Regions from separate parts of the Homo sapiens genome. Here all the other regions are linked to region 1. The links are contacts of gene promoters, found by promoter capture Hi-C in blood cells and fetal thymus (Javierre and others, 2016). All regions are on one chromosome and are shown on one strand. The core of a region is centred on a gene start or on the middle of the fragment in contact, and the rest is flanking DNA. Distances in the headings are between cores, read along the strand shown. Region 1 overlaps POLD4 (DNA polymerase delta 4, accessory subunit). Region 2 holds the start of ACY3 (aminoacylase 3). Region 3 holds the start of NUDT8 (nudix hydrolase 8).

Evidence for each region. Contacts are between HindIII fragments. The CHiCAGO score rates a contact against its expected background, and 5 or more counts as called.
Region 2: a contact is called between the fragment with the promoter of ACY3 here and a fragment that was not itself captured in region 1, in 1 of 17 cell types (naive CD8 T cells). The highest score is 5.8, in naive CD8 T cells.
Region 3: the fragment with the promoter of NUDT8 here is called in contact with a fragment that was not itself captured in region 1 in 6 of 17 cell types (naive CD4 T cells, total CD8 T cells, naive B cells and 3 more); the score reaches 6.4 in naive CD4 T cells.

Annotation. Positions count from the first base shown.
Region 1 is chr11:67,346,700-67,351,528 of GRCh38, reverse strand. It overlaps POLD4 (DNA polymerase delta 4, accessory subunit), which reads left to right. Exons shown (of 4, transcript NM_021173.5): 4 at 1-757. The region is part of intron 2 of LOC100130987 (a long non-coding RNA gene); the gene reads right to left. Among named protein-coding and RNA genes, the nearest start is that of POLD4, 4.4 kb to the left of the region's middle. RefSeq lists a silencer at 3,224-3,363. The HindIII fragment of the contact is 211 bases long and covers 1,797-2,007 here.
Region 2 is chr11:67,649,480-67,654,308 of GRCh38, reverse strand. It overlaps ACY3 (aminoacylase 3), which reads left to right and starts at 3,579. Exons shown (of 8, transcript NM_080658.2): 1 at 3,579-3,726. RefSeq lists enhancers at 3,298-3,357, 3,428-3,507. The HindIII fragment of the contact is 12,167 bases long and covers 1-4,211 here.
Region 3 is chr11:67,626,375-67,631,203 of GRCh38, reverse strand. NUDT8 (nudix hydrolase 8) reads left to right here and starts at 1,267. Exons shown (of 4, transcript NM_001243750.2): 1 at 1,267-1,486; 2 at 2,153-2,285; 3 at 2,804-2,881; 4 at 2,953-3,266. The coding sequence starts at 1,293. The coding sequence ends at 3,258. LOC124902696 (a long non-coding RNA gene) reads right to left here. Exons shown (of 2, transcript XR_007062741.1): 2 at 3,811-4,829. RefSeq lists silencers at 345-514, 635-1,424, 1,715-1,864, 2,432-2,726. The HindIII fragment of the contact is 2,776 bases long and covers 1-2,552 here.

The DNA.
Region 1 (4,829 bases), core at 653-3,152:
ACTGTGGCCCTGCTTTGACTGGCAGTCCCTAGCAAGTTAGGAGATGAGAGAGGCACCACTACAGCTCTTTTCCTTCAAGAAAGTCCTAGGCCGAAGAGGGAGGAGACAGTCATCTTGAGACGGATCAAGTCCTCGGAAGAGCTGAGCGACCTCTGGTGCCCCCTGGTGGCCCACAGGGAAACTACTCATGACTCACCTTCTGGAGCAGCCAGGGAAAACCTACCTGACTAGCCAGCCACCTGCCTTGCTAAGCGGTGCCCACCTCACAAACATGGGTGCTTTGCCAGAGAAGGACCCCTGGGGTCCATAGCTCATGAAGTCCAAACATATCTATACATTCCCAGCAAGCACCTCTGGCTTCCCACATCGGGGGCCACCTTGATCCAAAGCAGGGCTGGCGAGGGTCTCAACTTGCAGGACCTGCTCAGACATGACCATCATCTGAGGGGCTTTGGTAAGAAACTGATGGCTGGGCGCGGTGGCTCACACCTGTAATCCCAGCACTTTGGGAGGCCAAGGAGGGCGGATCACGAGGTCAAGAGATCGAGACCATCCTGGCTAACATGGTGAAACCCCATCTCTACTAAAAATACAAAAAATTAGCCAGGTGTAGTCCCAGCTACTCAGGAGGCTGAGGCAGGAGAATGGCGTGAACCCGGGAGGCAGAGCTGGCAGTGAGCTGAGACCGCATCACTGCACTCCAGCCTGGGTGACAGAGAGAGACCCCGTCTCAAAAAATAAAAAAATACAAAATAAAGGCTGGGCGCAGTGGCTCACGCCCGTAATCCCAGCACTTTGGGAGGCCGAGGGAGGTGGATCAGGAGGTCAGGAGATCGAGACCATCCTGGCTAACATAGTGAAACCCCGTCTCTACTAAAAATACAAAAAAACTTAGCCAGGCCTGGTGGCGGGCACCTGTAGTCCCAGCTACTTGGGAGGCTGAGGCAGGAGAATGGCGTGAACCCGGGAGGCGGAGCTTGCAGTGAGCCGAGATCGCGCCACTGCACTCCAGCCTGGGCGACTGAGCAAGACTCCATCTCAAAAAAAAAAAAAAAAAAAAGAAAGAAAAAAGAAACTGATGGTGCTGGGGGATGGAGGAGAACTGGCTGGAGCCAGAAACAATGCCCAGGGGACCCAGGGTCAGGGTATGACATGGAGAATAGAGTCAGTAACCGCTTCTATAGTGTTACCTTCATCTACTGTGGCAGCCCTCTATCCTGGGGGTAGATGGAGGCAGCACTAGTAAGTTCTTGGAAACAGGCCTAGAGGGCAGCTAAGTGGCCTGTGTAGCCCCCGTCTGAGCACTGATCATGTCTCAGGTACTTTAAATGTATTACCTCGAATCCTCCTAAAAAACCTTCCAGGTAGGTTTTACTGAGGGGGAACTGAAACTAAGAAAGGTTAAGTAAAGTTGCCCAAAAGCACACAGCAGGCAAGAGGCAGTGCAGTGACCAGGGGCCACTTGCATTAACCTCTTCCAGACTATGCCATACCTCCTGCCCAGCTGCTAAGCACTCACTATGTGCCAGGCACCAAAGGTCCCCTTGGGGTATTACTAATGGTCAGGAGATGGGCAAAAACAAACACGTAAGTTAATTATGACAGGTAGCAGTCAGTAGTAAGCAAAATCAGAGTTGGGATCAGAAAGGGTCCAAGGATGCCAGGGGCGCTATGTTAGAGAGACTGGTCAGGGAAGGCCCTCTGCTAAGGTGGCATTTGAGCAGAGACTTGAAGGAAGGAAGGGAGCAAGGTCTGCATCTGAGGGTTCCAGGCAGAAGGAGCAACAAGGAGAAGCTTCCTGAGGAAGGAGTGTTTCCAGCCTGCTCCAGGAAAGGCACTGAGGAGGCCAGTGAGGCTGGGGGCCAGGGAGTGAGGAAGGGTAGTGGGAATTGAGGGCAGACAGGCAGCGGGCTGGTCCCTAGGGCCATGATAAGAAACTGGATTTGATTCTGAGTGAGAGGGGAGGATACTGGAGGGCTTGAAGCCAATAAATGACAGAGTCAAGCTTATGTTTCGAAAACATTACTCTGTTGGTGGAAAACAAGATTGTGGAGCTGGGGAAAACAGAGGTAGCAAAACCACTCAGGAGGCTACTGAAGTTGGCCTCATGAGAGCTGAGGGTGATCTGGACCAGCGTGGGGAGGTGGACTGCTCAGAAGTGGCCAGGTACGCTCTGTATTTTTAAGGAAGAGCTGACTGGCAGGACTTGCCTATTGGTCGACTGTGGGATTTAAGAGGGAGGAGCCAAGGATAACTCCAAAGGTTTTGGTTTGGGCGACTGGAAGGACAGAGTTCTCATTACTAAGATGGGAAGACTTGTGGGAAGGGTGGGGCAGGAATCTGGAGCTCCATCTTAGACATGCTGAAGTATCTGTGCCACTTCCAAAGGGACATGGGGTATAGGCAGTGGATATGTAAGTCTCGGATTCTGAGGCATTCTAGGTTTAAAATATAAACTTGGGAATCTTTTAGATGGCCTTGAAAGCTCCAACAGTGGATGAGATCCCCAGAGTGAGTGTAGAGAGAGAAGTGATCTGAGAGATCCAGTAGCGAGGGAACCTGAGGTTACCGGAGATGAGGAGGCAGTTGTGTGAGTGAGATCTTTGTGAGGGTGAGGAGGGCCAGGAACCAGGATACAGGAAGAGGGTGGCCTTCAGTAGACACATGCACTGTGACAGGAAGGGAGGCAGAGAATATGAGAGGAGCCTCAGGTAGGGGGATATATTTGGGGATGGGAATATTCAAGAATCAGATATTTACTAAGAGCCTGACACTGCTGGGAGGGCTCTGATGTTTACTAAGTGCCTATCCATGCCATCTGCTATGTGAAATGCTGCACACATGTTATCTAGTTGAATCCTGAGAACAATCTCATTAGGGAAGTACTATCCATGTTTTACAGATAAGGAAACCAAGGCTGAGAGGAAAAGTGCCTTGCTCAATCAGTAAACACCAGGGCCTGAATTCACCCCGCACCTGCACTCCAGATGTTGGAGGATAAGAATGTTGTCGAGGAGATAAGGACTACATATGTGGCAAGTTAGAAAACCATGTAATATGAGTGCTTTCCCGAGGCAACCTAGGAGTGGCACAGACACTGAATTGTCTGAGTTCTCAGAAAGGAAAGAGCACCATGGGTGACAGGGACCCGCTGCAGGGGCCTCGAGCACAGGGACTGCAACCTTCCTCCCGCTGCATTGTATTCCCCCTGCTGCACCTCATCTGCACCTAGCCCCTTCTAATCAGGGGTCCCTGTTTCTCACCTTCCCACCTTCCACCGCAGGGCGAATGCAGACTCCCCACTGTAGGGGACAGCACCATGCGGAATGTTCTTAGTCATTTCCTTCATCAATTTTGCATTCTACTCCATATGTCTGGAGTAGTTGTACTTCTTTTTTGACACAGAGTCTCACTCTGTCACTCAGGCTGAAATGCAGTGGGATGATCTTGGCTCACTGCAACCTCTGCCTCCAGGGTTCAAGCAATTCTCGTGCCTCAGTCTCCCAAGTAGCTGGGATTAGAGGTACCCACCACCATTCCCGGCTAATTTTTGTATTTTTGGTAGAGACGGGGTTTTACCATGTTGGCCAGGCTGCTCTTGAACTCCTGACCTTAAGTGATTCACTCGCCTCAGACTCCCAAAATGCTGGGATTACAGGCATGAGACACTGTGCCCGGCCTGGAGTAGCTGTATTAACATAAAAGTAGGTGAAATTATTTATAATTAAATAAAATGAAGTCTCCAGGAAGATGTGCCACATGTGGCTTATGGCTGCTTTCAGGTACCCCTGATACATCTACTATACCACCTCACTCAGTTTGAACAGCACTTCAGAAATACTAAAAAGCATATATATATATATATATATATATATATATATATATATATATATATTTTTTTTTTTTTTTTTTTTTTTTTTTTGAGAAAGGGTCTTGCTCTGTTGCCCAAGCTGGAGCACAGTGGTGCAATCATGGCTCACTGCAGCCTCAAACTCCCAGGTTCAAGCCATCTTCCTGCCTTGGTCTCCCAAGTAACTGGGACTATAGGCACGTGTCATACACAGCTAATTAAAAAAAAATTTTTTTTTTTTTTTAGAGAGATAGTCCTGCTATGTTGCCCAGGCTGGTCTCAAACACCTGAGGCCAAATAATCCTCCTGCCTTGGCCTCCTAAAGTATTGGGATTACAGGAGTGAACTGCCACACCCAGCCAGAGAATAGTGTTCTAGACTAAGGGAATGAGCTGAACAAAGGCAAGCAGGAGGGAATTATGTGTGTGCCACAGGCTAGGTGCACAGAGCTGTGAAGTATATACCACAGAGGTTTCCACATAAAATCATAAAAAACTAGCATTTGGCTGGGAGCGGTGGCTCATGCCTGTAATCCCAGCACTTTGGGAGGCCGAGGCGGGTGGATCACCTGAGGTTGGGAGTTCGAGACCAGCCTGACAAACGTGGAGAAACCCTGTCTCTACTAAAAATACAAAATTAGCTGGGCGTGGTGGTGCATGCCTGTAATTCCAGCTACTCAGGAGGCTGAGGCAGGAGAATCACTTGAACCGGGGAGGCGGAGGTTGCAGTGATGCAGTAACCAAGATCGCGCCACTGCACTCCAGCCTGGGTAACAAGAGCGAAGCTCCATCTCAAAAAAAATAAAAATAAATAAAATAAAGGGACAAAGAACTATAAGAGATGTTGCAAAAGAAGTTGGCAAAACTTGCATTTGGTAAGGGAAGAATGGGGAGGAGGTGTCAAATATGACTCAGGTTTTGAGCTTGGGTGGGTGAGAGAATGCTGATGCCATGGGAAGAAAAATGGAAACTGGGAGGGG
Region 2 (4,829 bases), core at 2,330-4,829, 300 kb before region 1:
TTTGTTTTTTTGTTTTTTGTTTTTTTCAAGAAAGAGTTTTGCTCTTGTCGCACAGGCTAGAGTGCAATGGCGCGATATCAGCTTACAACCTTCGCTTCCTGGGTTGAAGCGATTCTCCTGCTTCAGCCTCCCGAGTAGTTGGGATTACAAGTGCCCACCACCATGCCTGGCTAATTTTTTATATTTTTAGTAGAGACAGGGTTAGCCATGTTGGCCACGCTGGTCTTGAACTCCTGACCTCAGGTGATCCTCCCGCCTCAGCCTCCCAAAGTGCTGGGATTACGGACATGAGCCACCACGCCTGGCCGCAGTGAACTGTTTCTTGTGTACTGGCTGGTTGTAGCCAAGAGACTCGATGGCTTCTTGTCTTGTGTTGCCTTTTTGTTTTTTGTTTTTTGTTTTTTTTTTGCCCTTCCTGGACCTGGCCACAGTTGCTCAATACCTTAAGGGTAATCTCAACCAATGGAGATGTCAGCATCCCCAGTGTCCCTTCTGCTTTTTGTAGTTTATCCGCATGGCTTCTGCCACTGGAGTCCTGCTACAATTACTGTTTTCCCATATTACCCACCCAGCAGCTTAGAGGCGGGATTGGTGGTGACACAGATCCCACAACTCTTGGCCCACACTCAACTAGTTTTAAAAATATATTGGTGGGGAGGGGCGGGCATGGTGGCTCATGCCTATAATCACCACGCTTTGGGAGGCCGAGGTGGGTGGATCACTTGAGCTTAGGAGTTCGAGACCAACCTAGGTAAGATGGTGAAACCCTGTCTCTATAATATTAGGTTGGTTCAAAAGTAACCGCTGTTTTTGCCATTGAAAGTAATGGCAAAAACTGCAATTACTTTTGTACCAATCTAATTTTTTAAAAATTAATTAATTAAAAAAAATTGGAAGGCATAGATTTCACTCGGCAAGGCAGGAAATCTTGTAACTGCTCTATACTGTGGCTCTGCCGACCGCCCGGCACTGCTCCAGCAGATGCAAACTGCCCGAGATTTTGATGAATTCACTGAAGGAAATAAAGACATTGTGTTTAAAAACACAGCAGAAAGGTTGGGTGTGGTGGCTTATGCCTGTAATCTCAGCACTTTAGGAGGCTGAAGGGGGTGGATCACTTGAGCTCAGGAGTTTGAGACCAGACTGGACAACATAGCAAGACCCCATCTCAAAAAAAAAATTAGCTGGGTGCGTGCCTGTAGTTTCAGCTACTTGGGAGGCTGAGATGGGAGGACTGCTTGAACCTGGAAGTTGGAGGTTGCAGTGAGCCACAGTCGAGCCACTGCACTCCAGCCTGGGTGACAGAGCCGGACCTTGTCTCAAAATTAAAAAAAAAAAAAACCCACTGCAGAAGACCTTCAGAATTGCTTGCCTCTAGAAACCATGCTTTCCTCAGAACATCTAACCCTTCAAAAACTACAGCAGCAGCCAGAACCCACCATTCACGCTGACGCATTCCTTTGTGATAAAGACTTCATTGATTCATTATGTGACAAAGGGAAAATGAGCAGAAACTACTGGGTGGTTCACACCAAACAGAACCTTTAGACCGATTGCTCGTTCCTTCTCCCTCATGGAATTGAAGTTCATTTATCTTCATGCACTCCCTGATCAATCAGGAAAGGCTGTGGCTGACGTCAGCTCCAGGCTCAGCACAGTCTTTATGGGGTGATCTTATAGCTTAGCAGTGCAACCCTGTGGAGTAGAACTGAACGGAGACTTTTGCCAGTTGCAGGAAATGGTCATTAAAAAATACCAGTTTATTCACAGAATAAAGGTGCTTCATGCAGACATCTGTCCCCAGGGTTTCTTCTGCAAAATGCTGATGCTGCTATCATGAATAATGTCTTCAAATATTCTCTTAATGAGGCAGAACAAGCCGGAGCTGGGAATACATTTGTCATAATGTAAGGAAGCAGATCATCATCAGTGACAGTGCCAAGTCTTGAAGATTCTCTCCTGGGTCTTCAGACTAATACACATTTATCTCCCTGGGTTGAAGAAGTACTGTGGGACTATGATGTATACCCACAAAAGGATATTGACAAAGAAGCTCTTTATTTATTTATTTATTTATTTATTTATTTATTTATTTATTTATTTTCTTTTGAGACAAGGTCTCACTGTGTTGTCTAGCCTGGAATGCAGCCATACGATAACGGCTCACTGTACTCACGGTACGATTACCTCCAACTCCCCGTGCTCAAGTGATTCTCCCGCCTCAGCCTCCTGAGTAGCTGGGGCCACAGCTGTGTGTGCCACCACCTGGCTAATTTTTTTTTTTTTTTTTTTTTGAGACAGAGTTTCGCTCTTGTCGCCCAGGCTGTAGTGCAATGGCATGATCTCGGCTCACTGCAACCTCTGCCTCATGCCTCAGCCTCCCAAGTAGCTGGGATTACAGGCACCCACCACCATGCCTGGATAAATTTTGTATTTTTAGTACAGACGGGGTTTTGCCATGTTGCCCAGGCTGGTCTTACACTCCTGACATCAGGTGATCCACTCGCCTCAGCCTCCCAAAGTGCTGGGATTATAGGTGTGAGCCACCGCGCCCACCCTAATTTTTTTTTTTTTTTTGGTAGAGACAGGGTCTCCCTATGTTGCCCAGGCTGGTCTTGAACACCTAGGCTCAAGCAATCTGCCCCCCTTGGCCTCCCAAAGTGTTGGGGTTACAGGTGTGAGCCACTGCACCCAGCTGACAAAGAAGCTCTTGAACAAATTCATTTAATGAGATTCTCTAGCACTAAAATAGTCCTACCTCATTGTAATGTTTTGTAGAGTATCTTATAAAACAATGAAAAAAAACCAGTATTTTAATACATATTTTTCTGTATATTTCCTTCTAGCCTTTGTACATATGATCACATATTTGTAAAAAGTTGTATGTATATATATACAACTTTACCCGCTTTGTGTGATGATATGACAAAAACATTTATCTGAAAAAAGTATTTTTTTCATCAAATGGCAGAGCTCCTGTTTCTGGTAACCCGGGGTATGGCAAGTAGGGGCTCTGGGAGATGGAGCAGCTCAGCCTCCTGTGAAAAATTCTGTTTCTCTAAAAAAGAACAAATTCTCATGCTGGGCGCGGTGGCTCACGCCTGTAATCTCAGCACTTTGGGAGGCCGAGGCGGGCGGATCACGAGGTCAAGAGATCGAGACCATCCTGGCTAACACGGTGAAACCCCGTCTCTACTAAAAATGCAAAAAATTAGCCGGGCGTGGTGGCGGGCGCCTGTGGTCCCAGCTACTCAGGAAGCTGAGGCAGGAGAATGGCGTGAACCCGGGAGGTGGAGCTTGCAGTGAGCCGAGATCGCGCCACTGCACCCCAGCTTGGGTGACAGAGCCAGACTCTGTCTCAAAAAAAAAAAAACGAATTCCCAAAACTAGTCCCACTGTTGTCTACCCAGATCCGGGATCCGGGTTGCCCTTGGCCTGGCCAGAGATGCCTCTCAATCCCCCACGGCACGTAGAGCCAGACAGAAACCGAAAGCAGAGGTGCCCTGCGCTGAAGTCTAGAGATCCCACTGCTAGGTCCAAAGAATTTACCCTTTCAGTCAACCCACGGGGCAAAGTCCACTTTCTTCCCTGAAGGAGCAGCACAGAACAAAAGCTCCAGGCAGCTGCTTCCGCTGTTTCGGGGGTAGGGCGGAGTGACAGCCCCACGGGCCACGCAGCAAGCAGAAGATCCCCGGGAGTCACCCTCAACCCTCTGGGGCCACGTGGGTGAGTTCGCCCGGGGAAGGTGCCGCGGCCCACTGCTTTACCTTAGTGAGCCTCAAGAAGTTAGGATCAGAATCCCAGTCGGCCCCATCTGGGTCGCCAGAGTTTTGTTACCCACACAACGGGTGGGCTCAGTTGCTTGGCGGGTGTTAACTAAAGAGGATTTAATAGGGGATTTTATTTCTTGCAACAAGTAAGGAGAACACCTAGACAGCTCCCAAAGCAGTGTCTCCCCGAGCTGAGGGCTGGGGCAGGTTTTATAAGCATAGGGTAATGAGGCGTGATCTGATTGCATCTTGCAATGAGGTGATGCTGGGAGGCATGATCTAATTGGATGCTGACACAGGGGGGAACCACAGCTCTGACCCCTCTCTGGGTCTCAGTTTCCCCAACTGCAGTGAGGAAATTGGCCCCCGTGATGATGCCCATGACATCACCATCCTCTGCCCTCACTCATGCTGGGGTCTCCATGTGCCCATTTTCAAGCTTGTGCCCGCCCTTTGTTCCTCACTCCCCACAGCTGCCCTTGGCCAGGACTTTCACAGGGTGGAGCCAAGGCCCAGAGAGGGCACTGAATCTCTCCAGGTCACACAGCCTGTCAGGGAGGTGGGGCCAGAGCCAGGTCACACGTGTGCACACAACACACACACACGCACACATGCTCACGCACATGCACGCACACACGCTCTCAAGCACATGCACACATGCACACACATGCACACACACTCTCATGCACACACGCACACATGTACACACACATGCATGCACACATGCACACAATACTCTCATGCACATGCACACACGTACACACGCACACATGCATGCTGTCACACATGCGCACACACGCACACATGCTCTCATGCACACACGCACACATGTACACATACATGCACACATGCACACAATACTCATGCACATGCACACACATGTACACACGCACGCACACACGCATGCTGTCACGTACACATGTGAGTGCACACACGCACACACATGCTCTCATGCACACGCACACATGTACAGATGCACACATGCATGCACACACATGCACACACGCGCACACACTGCCAGGACTGGGGGCTGCTGTTTCTGAGGGTTCCTGGACCCCG
Region 3 (4,829 bases), core at 18-2,517, 280 kb before region 1:
AGCTCTGCCCAGTGCCGTCCGCATCCCTGGGAGCACACAGTAATATTAAAAGTGGTGACTCCAGCCCAGTGGCAGGGCTGCACTTGCCCAGATGAGGATCGAAACTGGCGCTCAGAGAGGCGCGGGACCTGCTCAACGTCACACAGCAGAGCATGGCGGACACCCGCCACCCCACGTTTAAATGCTGTGCGCAAGGCTGGGGTCATCTGGTCCCCAAGCCCAGGGTCTGGTGGAAGGGCGCAGAACCACGGTGGTCAGTGACCACAGGGGCCGAGGTAGGAAAGGGGGAGGGATTTGGGAATCCGGTCAAGACTCAAGGCAGGAAGGGAGAAGAGCTCTGGACGCTGGGACAAGGAGGTCAAAGGCCTGGGGCTGGAGTCCGACGGAGCCAGAGGGGAAGACAAGACTGGGGGCGGCGCGCGCCACCCAGCGGTATCGGGAGGGAGGACCGGAGGGAGGGCTGGGCCGGACGCTCCTCTCGCGCACCGATCGACCTCGGGTTCCTGGAGGGGCGTCCCCGTGGGATCCCGGCTCCGTACATCCTGGAGCCCCTAGGGGAGGGACGGACCAGTGGGGGCCGGCGGGGCCTCATCAGACACCCCAACGCCAGGACCCAACGGGACCGAGGACGGTCGCCGGGCGCTTCACGGTTCGCGTGGTTTCAGGATCTCGGAGAACACAACCGGCAGGTCCTGCAGCTCCGCGCCCATCTCCCTCCCCGCGGCCACACCCCCGGCCACGGCCCGGCCCTGCCGGAAGCACAGTCCTCCTGGCCACGCCCCCCAGTCCTTCGTAGCAAAAGCTCCGGTCCAGGCCCCGCCCCCAGCCCGCCCCAACCTCGATTGCCTACTAGGCCCCGCCGCCCTTTGGCAGTAACGTCCGAGTCCGGCTCCCGCGCAGGCCCCGCCCCGCCCCGCCCCGCCGCCCTCCGTCCCTCCCATCCGGGGGACTCAACGCGTCCCACCGAGGCCCCGCCTTCAAACAGGCCCCGCCCCCTAACGGACCCCGTCCCACCGAGGACCCGCCTTCAAACAGGCCCCGCCCCCGAACAGACCCAGTCCCACCGAGGCCCCGTCTCCGGGAAGGCCCCGCCCACGAACAGACCCACCCCACTGAGGCCCCCCGACGCCGCTGCCGCTCTGCAGCCCCCCAGGCGGGACGCGTCGCGCGGGCTGCCCCTTCTCCCTCTCAGCTTTCGGAGGGACCCGGGCTGAGCGCCCCGCCCCGCCTCGCCCCGCCTCTTCCCTCGCCCGATCCCGCGCCCTCAGTGTCCCGGCCGCGCAGGACTTGACATGCTGCCCGACTGCCTGTCGGCCGAGGGCGAGCTGCGCTGCCGCCGGCTGCTGGCAGGGGCCACGGCCCGGCTCCGCGCGCGGCCCGCGTCGGCCGCGGTGCTCGTGCCGCTCTGCTCAGTGCGTGGGGTCCCGGCGCTGCTGTACACGCTGCGGTCCAGCCGCCTGACCGGGAGGCACAAGGGCGACGTCAGGTACAGCGGCCGGGAACTCCTCGCCCTTTGCCGGAGGCTACAGGAGCCCGGGGCTGGCAGGGACCTCTGGCAGGGCACTTAGCCCCTTCGAGCCTCGGTTTCCGCCTCCGTAAAATGGGTCTGGGGAGAGTCCCTCCGCCCAAGGGCTGCAGCGAGAGGTCAGCGATCCGTGTCCGTCGGCCCCGGTGCACCTGCCGGGGCGCCACGTCCTCGCCGCGTGGGCCCCTCGTACGCGTCCTTGCGCGCACGCCTGGGCCGGGACACCCCTTTGAGCTGTTTCCCGCTTAGAGGGCGGACGCCGCCCCCTGCCGGCGACTACGGAGAGGTTCGGGCCCCGCCCGGCGGGAATTAAGAACATCCTGAGGACAATGTCAGTGTTGCTGGGGCCACCATAGGCCGAATTTGGGTATCTGAGCCCCAGGATCTTCTTGCCCCTGCTGCAGACCCTCTTATCCTGCGCTGTCCCGGGCCTCTCTTCCTTATCCCCATTGCTCAGGGAGGTAAACTGGCCTCCAGAGGTCGCATGGCTTGCCTGGGGCCTCCCAGTAAACTAGGGGCAGAGGCAGGCGACACTTCGGTGGGCCAGTGGCCCCCCCCGCACTGCCGATACCCCGACCTCTCCGTGGCCCCAAGAGTCCAAGGACCAGACTCCTTGTGTCTGTTTAGTTTCCCAGGCGGCAAGTGCGACCCGGCTGACCAAGATGTGGTGCACACGGCCCTGCGGGAAACCCGGGAGGAGCTGGGCCTGGCAGTGCCCGAGGAGCACGTGTGGGGCCTGCTGCGGCCTGTGTATGATCCGGTAAGCCACTTGGCTGAGGCCACCCCACCCCATTCACTCACTCTGTGCCTGCCCTGGAGCTGGGCTACCAGGGACCAGGAGAGTGGTCATGGACCCCCACGGGCACAAAGTGTGGAAGGGTGCCCCTAACCTGCCTGGTCACATGCACCACCCCACACACCCCCTCGGGAAGGGATTGGGGAGGCTCTGGTGTCCTGAGTAGAGGTGGCCCAGGGCGATGGGGTGGGCCAGCTCCACTCAGTTTGGTGGATTAGGGTCAGGGAAGCTTCATGGGGTAGGCAGGGATTGAACCCAGGCTTGAATGCCAAGTGGGAGATTGTCCTAAGCAGAGGGAACAGGTCTAGTGCATTTGAGGGGACCTGAGTCAGTCAGCATGGCTGGAGGACACAGGCAGGTGGACCCGAACATGACTACCAAAGGCCTATGCATGGCAAAGGGGTCTTCCTCTCACACTCCCCTCCCCAGCCTTCAAACCCAGCGAAGGCCATGCTTCCCTGACCACCTGCCCTCTTCCCCAGCAAAAGGCCACCGTGGTGCCAGTGCTTGCTGGTGTAGGCCCACTGGATCCCCAGAGCCTCAGGCCCAACTCGGAGGAGGTGAGCTGGGGGATATGAGGGGGTTGGGCTGTTCCAGTCCTCTGTCTACCCTCTCTGCCTCCTGCCTGCAGGTAGATGAGGTGTTTGCACTGCCGCTGGCCCACCTGCTGCAGACGCAGAATCAGGGCTATACCCACTTCTGCCGGGGTGGCCACTTCCGCTACACACTACCCGTCTTCCTGCATGGACCACACCGGGTCTGGGGCCTCACAGCTGTCATCACTGAGTTTGCCCTGCAGCTGCTGGCACCTGGTACCTACCAGCCCCGCCTGGCCGGCCTGACCTGCTCAGGGGCTGAGGGTCTGGCCCGCCCTAAGCAGCCCCTGGCTTCACCCTGTCAGGCCAGCTCCACTCCAGGACTGAATAAAGGTCTTTGACAGCTCTAGAGCTCTTGCTTCTGCTGTACTGGGGCCTTGACCTTGGGCAGACCACTCCAGGTCGCTGGCTGGGGCTCCTCCTTCCAGTCACGCCATGCCCCACAGCAATGGACACTTCCTGGGTGCCAAGTACTTGGAGTCAATTCATCTCACCCTCACAACAGCCCATAAGGCAGGGCCAACACTGTCTCTGGCTGGTGAGACTGCTTTCAGGGAGGAGAGACACCTTGCCTAAGGGCCCCACGCTGGGATTGGAACCAGAGCTCTCAGACTCCACAGCCCAGACTCTTAGGCACTGCACTGCCCTGTCTCAGCCTGCACCTCCTGTTCTCTCTGCTGTGCCTGGCTGACGCTGTGCTGGGCTCCGGGATCCCAGAGAGGAGTAAGGCGCACCCATGCCCCTGGGTGTTACTGCAGGAGTCTAACATGCAGAGCCCCTGTGTGTGCCAGCTGCTGTGTGGGGGCCACAGCTGTGGACCGGTCAGATGCTCACCTGCCGTCCAGAGGGGGTGCTCAGTCTAGGGGAGACCTCAGACCAGGTCACACAGATAATCATGTGGTTCCACATTAATTAATCACAGATAATAGTGGAATTATATAAGACATCAACTAGGTAGACCAGGGTTCTGTGAAAGAGCTGAGGGAGCGGGTGGTCTGAGCTTGCCGTGGAGGATGGCTGGATCCAGGGGCTCGGGCTCCCCTCTTGCTGTGCTTTGCGCTGTGCTGGCCTCAGCCCCAAGGAGGTTGTCTGTAGTGCAGAGCGTGAGAGGTTGAGGAGAGGGCAGCAGCATCCATCAACAGAAAACACGGCCGCTCCTTCCCGGCCAGTCTAACCTAGAATTGCACTTCACTGGCCTGCCTTGAGTCACATGTCCTTCCCTGAGCCTGTCACATGGCCGGTTGTGTGTCCGGAATTGGTGGGTTCTTGGTCTCACTGACTTCAAGAATGAAGCCATGGACCCTCACAGTGAGTGTTACAGCTCTTAAGGTGGTGCGTCTGGAGTTTGTTTCTTCTGATGTTCGGATGTGTTTGGAGTTTCTTCCTTCTGGTGAGTTCGTGGTCTCGCTGGCTCAGGAGTGAAGCTACAGACCTTTGTGGTGAGTGTTACAGCTCATAAAAGCAGTGTGGACCCAAAGAGTGAGCAGTAGCAAGATGTATTGCAAAGAGCGAAAGAACAAAGCTTCCACAGTGTGGAAGGGGACCTGAGCGGGTTGCCACTGCTGGCTCGGGCAGCCTGCTTTTATTCTCTTATCTGGCCCCACCCACATCCTGCTGATTGGTAGAGCCGAGTGGTTTGACAGGGCACTGATTGGTGCGTTTACAATCCCTGAGCTAGACACAAAGGTTCTCCACATCCCCACCAGGTTAGTTAGATACAGAGTGTTGACACAAAGGTTCTCCAAGGCCCCACCAGAGTAGCTAGATACAGAGTGTCCATTGGTGCATTCACAAACCCTGAGCTAGACACAGGGTGCTGATTGGTGTATTTACAATCCCTGAGCTAGACATAAAGGTTCTCCAAGGACCCATCAGAGTAGCTAGATACAGAGCTGAAGGGCTCCTCAAGTGC